Linked DNA regions of Homo sapiens: all the other regions are linked to region 3. Evidence: promoter capture Hi-C in 16 types of primary human blood cells and fetal thymus (Javierre and others, 2016). All regions are on one chromosome and are shown on one strand. Each heading gives the region's core, a stretch centred on a gene start or on the middle of the fragment in contact. The rest is flanking DNA. Distances are from core to core; before and after follow the strand shown. Region 1 holds the start of FBL (fibrillarin). Region 2 holds the start of RPS16 (ribosomal protein S16). Region 3 holds the start of HNRNPL (heterogeneous nuclear ribonucleoprotein L).

Region 1 (4,657 bases), core at 161-2,660, 1.0 Mb before region 3:
CCATCATAATATCTAAACAATCTTTCAGGAATGTTTCTGTGCAAATTGGTGGCATTCCACAGCTGGAACACTGTACACAGAGAACTCACAACGGTATGAGGCCATCCATTCATTCAACAAACATTTACTGGGCACCCAGAGGGCTGTCCTAGGCCTAGAGTGATAGAGCAGTGAATGGAACAGAGTCAACATCTAGGCTCTGGACTGGTAGGTTCTTCTGGAGTTTTTCGGTAACTTCTCATAACAGCAGTTGTCTTGCTTTGCAGAATGAATATAGGGATGGATACTGATATTACACAATTACAAAGCCCAAAATTCTTAATACTTAAGCAGAATCTGTTGACCCCTGACGCCGCTCTCTGCCCCCACTCTGATCTGTCCATCCTTTTCTTCTGATTCACGGCAGCAGCCAGTCCTTGGTTTTCCTGCTTTCACCCTCACTCCTGCAGTCTGCTTCCCACATGCAGCCAGAGGGACCTGTGTCAGATCACATTCCTTCTCTGCTTGGAACCCTTCCATGGTTCCATCTTACTGCCTAAGTCCTCACTATGTCCCACAAAGCTCCGCACAATCTGCCCTTGTTAGCTACCCGCCCTTATCTCCTCTTACTCTCCACCTTGCTCACTTTGCCCCACCCACCCTCCTCATTGTCTCTCCAACTTCCCATATCTTTCCTTCCTCAGGGCCTCTGCATCTGCAGATCTTTTCCCTGCCTGGAACTCTCTTCCCCTAGATAGGTGCATGCCTCACTCCTCACTTCCTTCAGCCCTTTAGCTCAAAAGTCTCCTGATGCATTCCTTGACCACCGTGCCAAAAAAACAAAAATCATTTGCCCTCCAAAATCTCTATCCCCTTTCCCTGCTGTTATTTTCTCCAAAGCACTTATCGCTTTCAAACATTCAACATGTTTGGTGTCTATTTCCTCCATTAAAAAGATGAACTCCAGGAGAGTGGAGATTTTTATGTCTCGTACACCGCTGTATTCCCAGCTCCTAGAACAGCACCTGGTACACACGAGGTGCACTGTAAATGTTTTTCGGATGTTTGAATGGAAGCCCAGAGTCGGTCACTGTTCTTGGGGCTGGAAATGTATTGGGGAAGCCTTTTTGGGTGTACAGGGGCCAGAGGGATTTAGCTAGGAATACAAAAGAGGGCACAGCCCGTGCGAAGGCTATGAGCCCTGATTATTGGGGTGCTCGCATTGGGGAAGAGGAAACCGGAAGCGAGTTTAGGGCGACCGCTGCACAGGCAAAGGCTGGGAAGGCAGAGAGCGAGGGCAGCGGGTTGCGTGTCGACAGGCTCGAGAATCCAGGCTCACTGCGCGTGCGCCGAGCTCCGGGCGGGGAAGGGGCCCGGGGGCGGGACTACGGGGTGGCGTCACGCAGCGCACGTCGCCGCGCGCCTGCGCTCTTTTCCACGTGCGAAAGCCCCGGACTCGTGGAGTTGTGAACGCCGCGGACTCCGGAGCCGCACAAACCAGGGCTCGCCATGAAGCCAGGTCAGGCTGGGGTGAGGGTCCGGGGTCAGGGACGGAGGCCGGGCGGGAATCCGGGTGCCAGGCCAGAATCGGAGGGGTGGGGCCTTGGCCTGGGGGCAGGGGTTCTGAGCACGGGTTCCAGTCTCCTGTGGGAAGGGGGATTCTGATTCCAGCAGGTCTAGGGGTTTGTGACTGGCTTCAGAGGTCACGGTCGTGAGTCGAAGAAGGCCGTGGGCCTGGCATTGGGGGTGTTGACGTGGGGTTCGTCTCATTGAGGCCGTCTAATAGGGATTTTGGATATTGGGCAGGAGGCGGCACTCAAGGGTCTTGGGCTAGAGTTTGGATTCAGGCATCTGGAGTCTTGGATCGCTGGGCGTGTTTTGGGAATCAGGCTTGGGTCGGAGATGGAGAGTTCCTGACCTTGGGTCCTGGAGCTGTGTGTGGGAAGCCCCCATTTGCCTTCCCTGTCGCTGCCACCACCACCATCCCCTTATCCCGCATCCCAGCTTTTCCGAGTGGGCCGGAGTGGATGAGGACTCCCCGGTTGGCCGTGTGCGGCGCTCTTCGGCTCACTTTCCCGCCTTCTGCACTTACAGTGGGGCGGATCCCCGGGGATGGAGTGGAGATTTGGGGATTAAGATTTCCACCTCCGGGACGAGACTTAACAAGCTCGGCATTAGTCTGGGGTGGTGGGGCGGGTGGTTGTCACAGGAGGTAAGTAGTTTTATTCTTAAGATTTTCCACTAGATTCTGCTGAAACCACTCCCTTCATGGTGGAATGATGAGGGGGTCCTGGCTTTGACAGCAGAAGGGCCTCAGTTCAGTGTGTCAGCTCTTGCTCAGCTTCTTAGCCTGCTGTGTGAACTTGGGCAAGTGGCTTTACCTCTCTGAGCCTCTGTTTTCTCATCAATAAAATGGCGCCAGTTAGGATTAAGCGACGTTAAAAAAAATAGCACAGTGCTTGACATATAATAGTATTAGCTCTAATTGTTACCTTTATCTTTCTCAAAGAGAACAACATTAGAATCCTTCTCGGTGGTGCCTGAGCACTTCCTCCATCTGGCCTGCCCAACCCGCACTCATCTGTGTGAGAACTTGCTTCATTGAGTTTGGAGAATTTCCACCATGGCCCAAAGGGTCTGTTTTCCTAGTACAGGCTTTCTTTTTCTTTTGTGTGTGTGTTTGTGTGGAGAGATGGGGGTCACCTGGCAGGAGATTTGTGGATCTGTGCCCTTCTCCCAAGTTCCCTTTCTCTTCCGTGTTTGGGGATCTCTTGATGAAGTGGGGTGGGGGATTGTAGGCCAGGTATGCTGAGATCCTGGCTTGCCTGCAGGCATTCTGGTCTGTGATTCCCTCATAAATGGAGGATACCCGTTCTTCCAACCTTCCTCCATGTGTGGTAGAATGTGAAGTTGTAAAAGTTGTCAGGTGTTAGCTCTTTAGTAAGGATTTTAGCCTGAGTGAGAAAAGAACCCTTTGGGAGATTTTTGAGCAGGGGCGTGGTGCAGTCTGACATTTTTAAAAGGGATTCTTTTTGCTTCGATGTGTGAAAGACCTCAGGGTGGCAAAAGTGGAAGCAGGCACATTGGTGGGAAGCTTGTTGCTGTAATCTAGGAGATGGTGTGGTGGACCAGGATGGGAGCAGTGGACATGCTGACAGTTTTACATGCTTTTGAAGACAGAACCAACAGATTGTATGTGGGTGTGTGATCGGAGTCAAGGATAACCAAGGGTTTGGGGGTGTGTAACTGGAAGGATGGAATTGCCATTTTTGAGATGGAGAAGGCTGTGGAAGGAGAGCAGATTTTAAATCAGGGGGTTTATGGACCCCCCTCCCCCCAAAAAAAGAACTTACTGGAAAAGTTTGTGTGAACATGTGTTTTTTCTGAGGACTGGGTACTTTTGGTACATTTTCCCCCAAAAGCTCCAGGACCTGAAACGGATTGAGATGTTTTGAGTATCTGGGATTGAAAGTTTACACTCATGCCCACTCCGCCCCAAGCACATGCCAGTACTTCCTTTCTGTTAGGCCTGGGTTGAGACTTTCATAAGCCTAGCTGTGGCATCTCCCCTAAATGAAGGTCTTGGCTTTGGAAAACTGTTGGAGGGCTTGGGCAAGAAAATTGAGATCTGAGTTGCTGTTTCAAAAACAGCACTTATTAGTTGCTGTGTGGAAAGTGGACTGTAGGGGGAGTAGAACATTAAAAAGTGAACAACTCTTAGTTATGTTCTAGAGTTTTGAAAAGGAAACTTCATTTTAAAAGATCAAATTAGGAGTAGCTATTAAAAGTTACATTTTCATCTTTAATAGAAAGATGAAAAAAGAACTAACTGGAAAAGTTTGTGTGAACATGTGTTTTTTCTGAGGAATGGGTACTTTTGGTACATGAGGAGGGAAGAGGAGACGCGTACCCCTGAGTTTGAATGATGATGTTCAAAGTAGGTGCCAGATAGTATATATGTGATGTGCTCTGTGGGTACAAGTCATTTAATCTTTACAACCCTATAGGATGAGCACTGCATTTTTTTTATTTTTATTTTTTTGATACAGAATCTCTCTCTGTCACCCAGGCTGGAGTGCAGTGGCACCATCTCAGCTCACTGCAACCTCCGCCTGTGTTCAATTGATGCTTGTGCCTCAGCCTTTTGAGTAGCTGGGATTACAGGCATGCGCCACCACGCCCAGCTAATTTTTTGTATTTTTAGTAGAGACAGGGTTTCACTATGTTGGCCAGGCTGGTCTTGAACTCCTGGCCTCAAACTGTCCGCCTGCCTGGGTCTCCCAAAGTGCTGGGATTACAGGCATGAGCTATGGCGCGTGGCCTGGCACTGTATTGTCTCCATGTCTTACAGATGAAGTTTTCAAGACCCCTATGAACCTTCCTTACTAGGGTCGAGAGTGGCAGCAACATTGCCTATCTCTCCATATGCGATACTTGAGGGGAGTGACCGGCACTTCCCTGGTCACCATCTGATGGATTGTGTGCTTTCTGAACAAATAGAGGGTGCTTTCTCCTTGAGGCAGGGCCCAGGGTTTAAGAGTCATCAGCTCAGTGCTCATTTAACATTTATTGAGCCCATACTTTGTGCCAGATGTTGTGCAGGGTTTTGGGGATGCGGTGGTGACCAAAACAGTTAAAAATCCCTGCCCATTTGGAGCTTGATCTTAGTGGGGGAGGC
Region 2 (4,903 bases), core at 1,459-3,958, 590 kb before region 3:
TCTTCATTGGAAAACACCTGTGCTAGCCTTTATCTGTGTCTGCAAGTGAATATTTGAGGTCTCTGCTCTATTTATTTTATTTTATTTATTTATTTTTGAGACAGAGTTTATTTATTTATTTATTTTTGAGACAGAGTCTTGCTCTGGCGCCCAGCCTAGGGTGCAGTGGCGACATCTCAGCTCACTGCAACCTCCGCCTCCCGGGTTCAAGCGGTTCTCCTGCCTCAGCCTCCCTTGTGGCTGGGATACAGGCACCTGCCACCATGCCCAGCTGATTTTTGTATTTTTAGTAAAGGCGGGGTTTCACCATGTTGGCCAGGCTGGTCTTGAACCCTGGGCTCGAGTGATCCTGCTGCCTTGGCCTCCCAAAGTGCTGGGATTATAGGTGTGAGCCACTGCACCTGGCCTCTGTCTCAAGTATTTTGGAAACATCATGCCTGCCTTTATCTCTTTTTTGTCTGAGGGTTGGCCTCTCTGCCTCTAAATCTGTCACTGGGCTTGTTTTGGGGGTCCATCTCTTGACTGTCCTGGTCTCTCCCTTTTCTCCTCCTCTTCTCCCTTGGCCTTTCATCTTTCTCTTCTTCTCCACTTGTGCCTACATTTCTTTGGGCTGTGTCTGTGTCCCTCCCGGTCAGCCTCTGGGTACTTCCTTCCTCCCTCCCAACAGCCCCCTCCCCCCTCACCCTTTTAGAGCTGGACTCCGGGCTGGCTTTTCCCTCTGGCCCCAGACCTGCCCTCCAGTGTCTCCCTGTCTCCACCCTCTTTGGCAAGGTGCACCACGACGCCCTTTTGAACCCTGGATCCCAGACCCTGTACTGCCAGAGAAACTGAGGCAACTGTGGGCTCCCTCTAGCTCTGAGAGAGGAACCTCTTCGCTGGGGAGACTCTTGATGGGGTGAGACGCAGGGACATCTGCCGGGGAACCAGAGGACAACCCAATCCTGGGGTTCCTCAGGTGGGGTTGGGGGGCTGGGGATGGAGAATTCTGTGGGGAGGAGGCTTAAGTGGAGGGTGATTTGGGGGAGAGGAAAAAGATGACTGGGAGATTCTGGAGAAAGAGATTCTAGGGGCTGGGCGCGGTGGCTCACGCCTGTAATCCCAGCACTTTGGGAGGCTGAGATGAGTGGATCATTTGATGTCAGGAGTTCGAGACCAGTCTGGCCAATATGGTGAAACCCCGTCTCTACTACAAATACAAAAATTAGCCGGGCGTGGTGGTGCATGCCTGTAATCTCAGCTACTCAAGAGGCTGAGGCAGGAGAATCGCTTTAACCGGGGAGGCAGAGGTTGCAGTGAGCAGAGATCATGCCACTGCACTCCAGCCTGGGCGACAGAGCAGGACTCTGTCTCAAAAAAAAGAAAAAAAAAAAACAAAAAACAGAGAGATTCGGCCGGGCGTGGTGGCTCACGCCTGTAATCCCAGGACTCTGGGAGGCTGAGGCGGATCACATCACCTGAGGTCAGGAGTTCGAGACCAGCCTGGCCAACGTGGTGAAACCCCATTTCTACTAAAAATACAAAAAACGACCAGGGCGTGGTGGTAGACGCCTGTAATTCCAGCTACTCGGGAGCCTAAGGCAGGAGAATCTCTTGAACCCGGGAGGCGGAGGTTGCAGTGAGACGAGATCGCACCACTGCACTCTAGCCAGGGCAACGAGCGAAACTCCGTCTCAAAAAAAAGAGAGAGATTCTAGGGTGGGGACGGGGAAGAGGTTAATTCTTGGGGGAGGGTCTCTTAGGAGAGGGGGATTCTAACGGAGGGAAAACTCCAGGGAAGGCAGTTGCTGGGAAGAGGAGTCTCGGAAGGGAAATAAACTCAGGAGAAAGGTAGATTTTGAGGGACGGGTCTCTGAGAGAAAAGTTTTTGTGGATTTGCGGGGCGGGGTGTTCTGGGAAAGGGGGATTTGCCGGGAAAGGGGGATTTGCCGGGAAAGGGAGATTCTGGAGGAGGGAGATTCCAGGGGTACTGGGTCCTGACAAGAGAAAGATTCTGGGAAGGGTGACTGAGGGGACGAGGACCGAATGGAGGGAGATTCAGGGAAAAGGGGGGTCTAAGTTGAGCACTCTTAAGAGGGACATTTGGGGTTGGCCATCTGAGAGAAGGATGGGAAACATTCTGGGAAGAGGAAACTGAAAGGAAGGACATTCTGGTGAAAGGGAGATTCTGAGGGGAAGGGGCTCTGAGGGGAAAAGGATTCTGGGAGAGGATCCCCAAGGAGGGGGATTCTAGGGAGGATAGGATTCTGGAAGTCCTTAATCTGAGAATCCAGCCAGATTTCTTGCAGTAGATTCCAAAGGAAGATTCTGATGCGGGGGATTCGGGGAGGAGGGAGTCCAGAGGGGAGAAAGATTACAGGTGTTGGGAGGGTGGGAACTGATTTAAAGAAAGGGCGAAGGGAGATTATTAAAGAGCCAGAATGCAAAGAAGAGCTGCGGTAGTCGACTACAGAGGACGCGAAGCACACTCCCGCAGCCTTCCCTTCAGTCCGCACACGACACTCCCAGGCCCCGCCCCTTCCGCCCACAGAGCCCGCCACTTCCGCCTCACAGGGCCCGCCCGCTCTGAGCGCCTAAGGGCCTTCCCGCCGCTGACCAGACGCCCCGCCCGTTAGCCGCAACAGAAGCCGTAAAGCTCTCTCCCGTCGCGACGCAGTGCTCAAGGCGCCTGCGCAGACCCTGAAAAGCGGCCAGGGTGGCCCCTAGCTTTCCTTTTCCGGTTGCGGCGCCGCGCGGTGAGGTTGTCTAGTCCACGCTCGGAGCCATGCCGTCCAAGGGCCCGCTGCAGTCTGTGCAGGTCTTCGGACGCAAGGTGAGCCAGACGCCGGATGGGAAGGGGAGGGGAAGGAGAAGGCCAGGGTCTGGGAGAGGTCGGTGGGCAGGAATCTAGGGGGTAACATGGGAGCTGGAGCCGGAGCTCACGGGGCCCCTGTTTCTCTTGTATCTTACAGAAGACAGCGACAGCTGTGGCGCACTGCAAACGCGGCAATGGTCTCATCAAGGTGAACGGGCGGCCCCTGGAGATGATTGAGCCGCGCACGCTACAGTACAAGGTGCTGGGATCCGGCACCGGCGTTGAGTGGATGGAGGACTCTTGGAGACAGAGATGTTGTAGCTCTTGAAAGCTGGGGGGGCTGGCATCAGCAACGGGATGTTTAGAAGTTGTGTTGGGTGTAGAACAGTGGGGTATTTGGCAATAGAGCTGGGCTTGGGGTTCAGAAGATGTAAAAGCTGAGATGGGGTTGTTGAAGATTAAGGGTTTGCTTTGAGAACTGGGATGTTAGGAAGCTCACCTCACTGGGGCGGGGGGACCCAAAGGGTGAAGGGACACCGACTATTTTTTATTTTATTTATTTGTTTTGAGAGGGAGTCTCGCTGTGTCGCCCAGGCTGGAGTGTAGTGGCGCGATCTCGGATCACTGCAACCTTCGCCTCCCGGGTTAAAGCGATTCTCCTGCCTCAGCCTCTTGAGTAGCTGAGATTACAGGCATGCACCACCACGCCCGGCTAATTTTTGTATTTTTAGTAGAGACGGGGTTTCGCCATATTGGCCAGAGTGGTCTCGAACTCATTACCTCAGGTGATCCACCAGCCTCGGCCTCCCGAAGTGCTGGGATTGCAGGCGTCAGCCACCGTGTGCGGCCGAATTTGGGTCTGTTTAAATGCTTGCTTGTAAAAGGGGTTCCTCTGTTCCCTTTTTGGGACTCTCAATTTCTTTGGCTCAGAATGGAAAGAAACCAGAGTCTGATTTCTGCCCCTTCTGAACTCTACTACTTTTAAAAGAAAGAATATCTACATTGCAGGGTCAGTTAAAAAAATTTTTTTTGAGTTATAAGGTTCTTTTTTAAAAACAGTATCTTGCTGTCACCTACCCTGGAGTGCAATAGCACAATCCTAATGAACTGCAGCCTTAAACTCCTGAGTTGGAGATCCTCCCACCTCAGCCTTTCGGTTGCCAAGACTACAGGCACATCACCACGCCTGGCTCATTTGAGAAATATTTTTCTGTAGACGTGGGGTCTCACTTTATTGCCCAGGCTGGTCCTTGGTCTCATGTGATCCTTCTGCCTGGACTGGGATTACAGGTGTGATCACCATGCCTGGCCTAGAATTTAATAAAAATTCTGAGATTTCCTTTGTGTAGCAGATGTTGAATGTTACTGTTATTGGCTGTCACTGTATTTGAAGGATTTGTATGTGTACCCTCTGTTGAGTTTTGGGGACATAGCAGTGATCCAGATGACTTAAGGTCTTGCCTTCATGGACCTGCCAGCCTAGTTGGGGAGAAGGACTGGGCCCAATACCAGAAGCTGATCCAAAGTGGTCAGAACTGGGGAAGGAGACCTGTGAGCTGAAAGCAGGTAAAGGAAGTATCCAGACAGAGGCACTGGTAAAAGACCTGGAGCTGGGAAGGGTCTAGGGACCAGGGACAGGTTGTACTGTAATTCTGGAAACCTGTGAGGCTCAAAGAAAGGGCAGAGAGCTCAGGTGGGAAATAGAAAAGGCACCTGAACAGTCCAGGGATGGCTTTCGACTACTTGAAACAGCCTTGGGAGTTTCAGAAGCTATTGGAATGCTCCTTACTGTTCAGCCTTCTAAGAACCAGTCTTAGAGGTAGGGTGTCTGAGGTCCAGTGAGGGACACAAGTAGGAGGGAGCCCAGATCTTGTTCCCTTTACCTTGCCTATATTTCTTAACACCACTTCAGCAGTCTCATATCTGGCTTTTTTGACTTTCCTCTTCTCTGGGTCTGTAGAGGGCCTTGGAGTGACACCCTGACCCCCATCCACTAGTACTTGAAGGCCAGTGGTGGCAGAAGCCACAGAAACAAGAAGCCCAGTGAGATGGCTAAGCTGCCCAGCATGTAACTTAAATCCCTGTTCATTCCCCATTCCTTTAGCTGCTGGA
Region 3 (4,946 bases), core at 364-2,863:
TCCACCCGGACCTCAACTCGAAATCCCCCATCAGCCGGGCAGAAAGGTCCTGGAGCACTTTTGGGGCGTCCGCCGCGTTTCTCACGACGCTAGCTTCGCTTTTATTTCTTTTCCCCCCTTTGGCGATATCGTCACTTGCCAATAGCTTCGCTAAGGTGTTCCCCCCCACACCCTGCGCGGGCAGCCCCATAATGTTAAATGCCGTAGGACGGGATCCCGGGTTAATCCCCGTTTGACCCCGCTGCCTGCGCGTGATAACTGGGGCGCGCTCCTCTCCACCCCCCAGGCTCCGCCAGTTGGGCTTCGCCGGAGTCTGGAGATACCCTCCGACATTCTCTTGGTGCAGTGCGGGTGGTCTTACCCCGCCCTTGAGGAAGAAAGGCCCGACGCAGGCACAGATCACAAGAACGCCTCCCCTGTGCAGGGGGCTTGCACTGTGCCAGGTGCTGTACTGGGCGCTTGGTAGGTGGCCACCCTCTCCAGGGTCGGGGCCAGGACCTCCTGTGGTGCTCAGAGGGGTCGAGCTGTCAGGTGAAAACCACTGGCCCGAGTTATGGCTTTGAAGGGAATCCTGGGGGTCTGGGATGGCAGGGACCTGTTAATTTAGATCGCACGGACAAGATGACTTGGCCCTTAGCTCCTGCAGGAGGGGTAGTGGACTATTGCAGGTGGAAGGGACTGCATGGGCACACATGGAGAGTGCGCGGAAGAGCCTTCTCCCAAGGGAAACTGAAAGGGGTTGCGGCTGAATTTAGAACTGGACAGGGTCCGAAGACAGTCGGCAGCAGCGAGTGGTTTTCTACTGAGGAAAAGGCTCAGATTTGGGATTTTAACAATTCCTCCTAGAGGTAGAAATGAACACGGTATAGTGATGGCGACAGAGATACCCTGGGAGTTCCTGTCAATCTTGGTCTAGCCTTCCGGCGCACACACAGCGGTCGCTCCATAAGGGGGCCCCGCCTCTGGGCGGTGCCTGAAAGCGTATTTGCGCATGCGTTCTCGCCTTCGCTCGTTTCGTATACTGCACCAAAGAGCGCCTACCCTGGGGCGGGGCTCCCCATTTCATCCAATCAGAGCGTATCAACAGTCCTACCATCTGGTGAGAGGGTGCGCTCCACTCTCCATTGACCAATCAGTGGAGACGCAGAAGAATGGGCATCTGTAACCACCACTGGAGAGAGACCAAAAAAGGGCGGGGCTTCCTTGTCTCCTTGCGAAGTGGCGCGGGAAGGTCGTCATTGTGACTGGTGCTGACGGATTAGCGAGGAGACCAATGAAAGTGGGAGGGAGGCGGAGATTCTTGGGAGGTTTAGAGCGCCGTTCCTATCAGGTGCTTTTAGGGAGGCCAGCAGCGCCAGAAATCCGACCTATCAAATTGGATTTTATTTTAAGGCGGCGGGGTCGACGGAAAGACTGGCAGAAAGCGACCACCTATAAGGAGTGTCTCAGACAAACAAGGGCGGGCCCTCCTGCAGAACGGCGTGGGCAATGTCCAATAAGCGCGCAAGGCGTGTGGCGGCCTACCCTCCCCCCGCGGCGGGACCAGTGGCTCCCCCTATCGGGTGGGGGCGGCGGGTGACGGGCGTGTCCCTCCCCCAATGAGAGGCGGGGGGAGGCGGGTTCTGCGCCGCCATGTCGCGGAGGCTGCTGCCCCGGGCGGAGAAGCGGCGTCGGCGGCTGGAGCAGAGGCAGCAGCCGGACGAGCAGCGGAGGCGGTCGGGAGCGATGGTGAAGATGGCGGCGGCGGGCGGCGGAGGCGGCGGTGGCCGCTACTACGGCGGCGGCAGTGAGGGCGGCCGGGCCCCTAAGCGGCTCAAGACTGACAACGCCGGCGACCAGCACGGAGGCGGCGGCGGTGGCGGTGGAGGAGCCGGGGCGGCGGGCGGCGGCGGCGGTGGGGTGAGGCCAGGGCCCTAGGCGCTGGGAAGGCCGGGAACTGGGGGACAATTTCCCAGCTTGAGGGCATTTTATTTTTTGAGGGGGGCCTCTGCGCACGCGCCCAGGCCATCGCGTCGTTGACGGTGTGGGGGAGGGGCGGCCGTTGGGCAAACGGCGGGGTTTGCGCGAGGACAGGCGCCTGCGCGTGCGCGGGGTCCGGAGCGGGGTGTGGGGGAGCGCAGAGGAAGTAGCTCGTGAGGCGAATGGCCCAGTGCGCAGGCGCCGCGGGCTGGCGTGTGGGGGCCGGGCACGCGGCCCGGCCGGTTTTTTTCCCCTTTATCATTTTCTTCGCTGGCTCCATGCGCAGGCGCAGTGTTCCCGCCCGGCCTCGTGGGCGGTTAGGGGAGCGCCTGGTGAGCGGGAACGGGTGGGCGGCGGCCTTGTTCTCTAGAGTGGGGAATTCCGTCTGATGGCAGCTTAATCTCTAAGGCCCAGCCTTGTGTCTATACAGAAATGGATGTGTTTGAGCCTAGATGCTCTCATTTTTGTAGGCATTGAAAATGGGAAGAGGACTTGTGAAATGCACTTTTAGCCTTTTAGGAGTTGAGCGAAGCCTTGAAACCATCACAAGTTTGCTTACAGTTTCCGGGGATTCACTGGGTACCGAGGATTTGATAAACCAAACTATTTCCTGGCCATGTTGGAAGCATTTCGACCCCCTGTAATCAGTCCCTCCGAAAACACCAGTCGTTGCTTTTGGAGTGGGGCCCAGTCCCCACTCTTTCCAAAATCTTGAAGTCTTACAGGGCCGCCTATTTGCAGGGTTTTCCAGGGTTTAGGGGTTACGAGTTGCTAGCGTTTTAATCTTGGCCTTGTCCCACACATTTTAAAGACATCTTAATTGAAAATCCTTAACGCTTCCTGAGGTTGGGGGAGATACTGGGATTCCCGATTTACAAAGGAGGAAATGGGCCAGGAGAGAGATGAGATGAGGTGAATTACTGTAGGTGGCACAGCTAGTGAGGGGCAGGGCTGGAGTTAGAACTCCCATTTGTGGGAGCTGCTAACCTGGCGGGAGTGCCTCACCCTGTGGTTCGCGTGGATCGCTCCTGAAATAGAATCCAATTCTACCCACCTTCCACGCACTTCTGCCCAGTGATTCTCAGACAGGGGGCCGGCCCCAGAGCCCAGGAGAGGCGGAAGAGAGTTAATCTTTCTCCTGATGACCAGAGGCTTTTGTCGGTGGGTGTAAGATACTTCTCTTAGGAAGGAGCAGTCGGTTCTTAATGGTATGGGTTGGAGTCTCTGGTCTTTCTAAAAGACTTTCCATCCGGGAGTGGGGGCTCATGCCTATAATCCCAGCACTTTGGGAGGCTGAGGCAGGCAGATTACCTGAGGTCAGGAGTTCGAGAACAGCCTGGTCAACATGGCAAAACTCCGTCTCTACTAAAAATACAAAAAAATTAGCCAGGTGTGGTGGCGAGGGCCTGTAATTCCAGCTACTCGGGAGGCTGAGGCAGGAGAATCGCTTGAACCTGGGAGGCGGAGGTTGCAGTGGACTAAGATCACGCCATAGCACTCCAGCCTGGGTGACAGAGTGAGACTCCATCTCAAAAAATAAATAAAAGACTTTTCTTGTCTGGTTTTTCTTAGTCTGACCTAGGCAGTAATTTCCAAAGCAGATTTTGGTGGGAGGGCGATTCAAGACTAGAAGGGGTCAAGACTGGCCTGGCTGCCCCAGTTTCTGGGGCATGTGTTGTTTTTTGCCCTGACTGAACCTGGGTGTGAGTGGTGGGGAACAGGTGTGCTTAGCTAGATGATGGTGGCTCAGCCAGTTAAAGGGCAAGGAATTTGGGGCACATGCAAAGGGGATGTCCTCATTCAAACTGTAGCAGATAGCTGTTAGAGCCCTTGCTGCCAGTGTATCTCCTTTTCCAGCTACTCTTTTCCCATGTTTCCTTGGTCGAGTGGACCAGTGGGAAGAGAGGGGGGTCCCTGGAAGAACGTAAGATTTGGGACTTGTGTGGCCCTCCCTCCGTTATACCTTCCTCAGAAGCTACAGCAAGAGCCAGTGGGCAAGTGATCACCCACTCAGGACCACTGTTCTGCTGACCCAGAATCCTTCTGGGCTGATTGGCTTCAATTGCTGCCCCTAGTCTTTCCTGTGCATCCTTCACGGATGACCTCCAACTGTTTTATCTGACTGGGTCTACAACAGTACAGAGGCCAGTGGGGCGTCATCTTGTACAGCAAGAAAATAATTCTTGTTTTTGCTTCCTTTCTCAGGAGAACTACGATGACCCGCACAAAACCCCTGCCTCCCCAGTTGTCCACATCAGGGGCCTGATTGACGGTGTGGTGGAAGCAGACCTTGTGGAGGCCTTGCAGGAGTTTGGACCCATCAGGTACTGGGCTCAGAGGCCAGGTGTTGGGCTTCCAAAGTTGACTCCTGGGTGTCCTTGTGTGTCCACGATTTCTGGTTGGAAATAGTGATTTTGTTGCCATCCTGGTCTAGATTCTGTGGCCGCTCTGCTTTTGGGTTGGCCATTGTACTTTGTGTCAGATTACAGCAAGTTCCATGACCCTTTTTCCTTCCTTCGTTTTTCCTCTGCCTTGTAGTTTCTAGTCAGTGTTCTCTTTTTCAGACAGAGCAAGGTCTCGCTTTGTGGCCCAGGCTGGAGTGTAGTGGTGCAGTCTCACCCAGGCTCAGGCAGTCCTTCTGCCTCGGCCTGCTGAGTAGCTGGGACTATAGGCATGCGCCACCATGCCCGGCTAATTTTTACATATATATATTTTTTGTTTGTTTGTTTGTTTTGAGACAGTCTCTTGCTCTGTCGCCCAGGCTGGAGTGCAGTGACAATCTCAGCTCACTGCAAGCTTTGTCTCGTGGGTTCACGCCATTCTCCTGCCTCAGCCTCCCGAGTAGCTGGGACCACAGGCGCTGGCCACCCCACCCGGCTAATTTTTTGTATTTTTAGTAGAGATGGGGTTTCGCTGTGTTAGCCAGGATGGTCTCAATCTCCTGACCTCGTGATCTGCCCGCCTCGGCCTCCCAAAGTGCTAGGATT

The links. Contacts are between HindIII fragments. The CHiCAGO score rates a contact against its expected background, and 5 or more counts as called.
Region 1: the fragment with the promoter of FBL here is called in contact with the fragment with the promoter of HNRNPL in region 3 in 1 of 17 cell types (neutrophils); the score reaches 9.1 in neutrophils.
Region 2: a contact is called between the fragment with the promoter of RPS16 here and the fragment with the promoter of HNRNPL in region 3, in 1 of 17 cell types (neutrophils). The highest score is 6.2, in neutrophils.

What each region holds. Positions count from the first base shown.
Region 1 is chr19:39,843,132-39,847,788 of GRCh38, reverse strand. It overlaps FBL (fibrillarin), which reads left to right and starts at 1,410. Exons shown (of 9, transcript NM_001436.4): 1 at 1,410-1,498. The coding sequence starts at 1,489. RefSeq lists an enhancer at 1,865-2,605. The HindIII fragment of the contact is 4,240 bases long and covers 1-3,075 here.
Region 2 is chr19:39,433,754-39,438,656 of GRCh38, reverse strand. RPS16 (ribosomal protein S16) reads left to right here and starts at 2,708. Exons shown (of 5, transcript NM_001020.6): 1 at 2,708-2,809; 2 at 2,949-3,050; 3 at 4,896-4,903. The coding sequence starts at 2,762. RefSeq lists enhancers at 503-1,271, 2,935-3,514 and a silencer at 2,455-2,554. The HindIII fragment of the contact is 27,347 bases long and covers 1-4,903 here.
Region 3 is chr19:38,846,653-38,851,598 of GRCh38, reverse strand. It overlaps HNRNPL (heterogeneous nuclear ribonucleoprotein L), which reads left to right and starts at 1,613. Exons shown (of 13, transcript NM_001533.3): 1 at 1,613-1,899; 2 at 4,165-4,283. The coding sequence starts at 1,633. RefSeq lists enhancers at 836-905, 1,236-1,325, 1,476-2,413, 2,486-2,575, 2,414-3,352 and silencers at 1,476-1,735, 1,746-2,285. The HindIII fragment of the contact is 20,955 bases long and covers 1-4,757 here.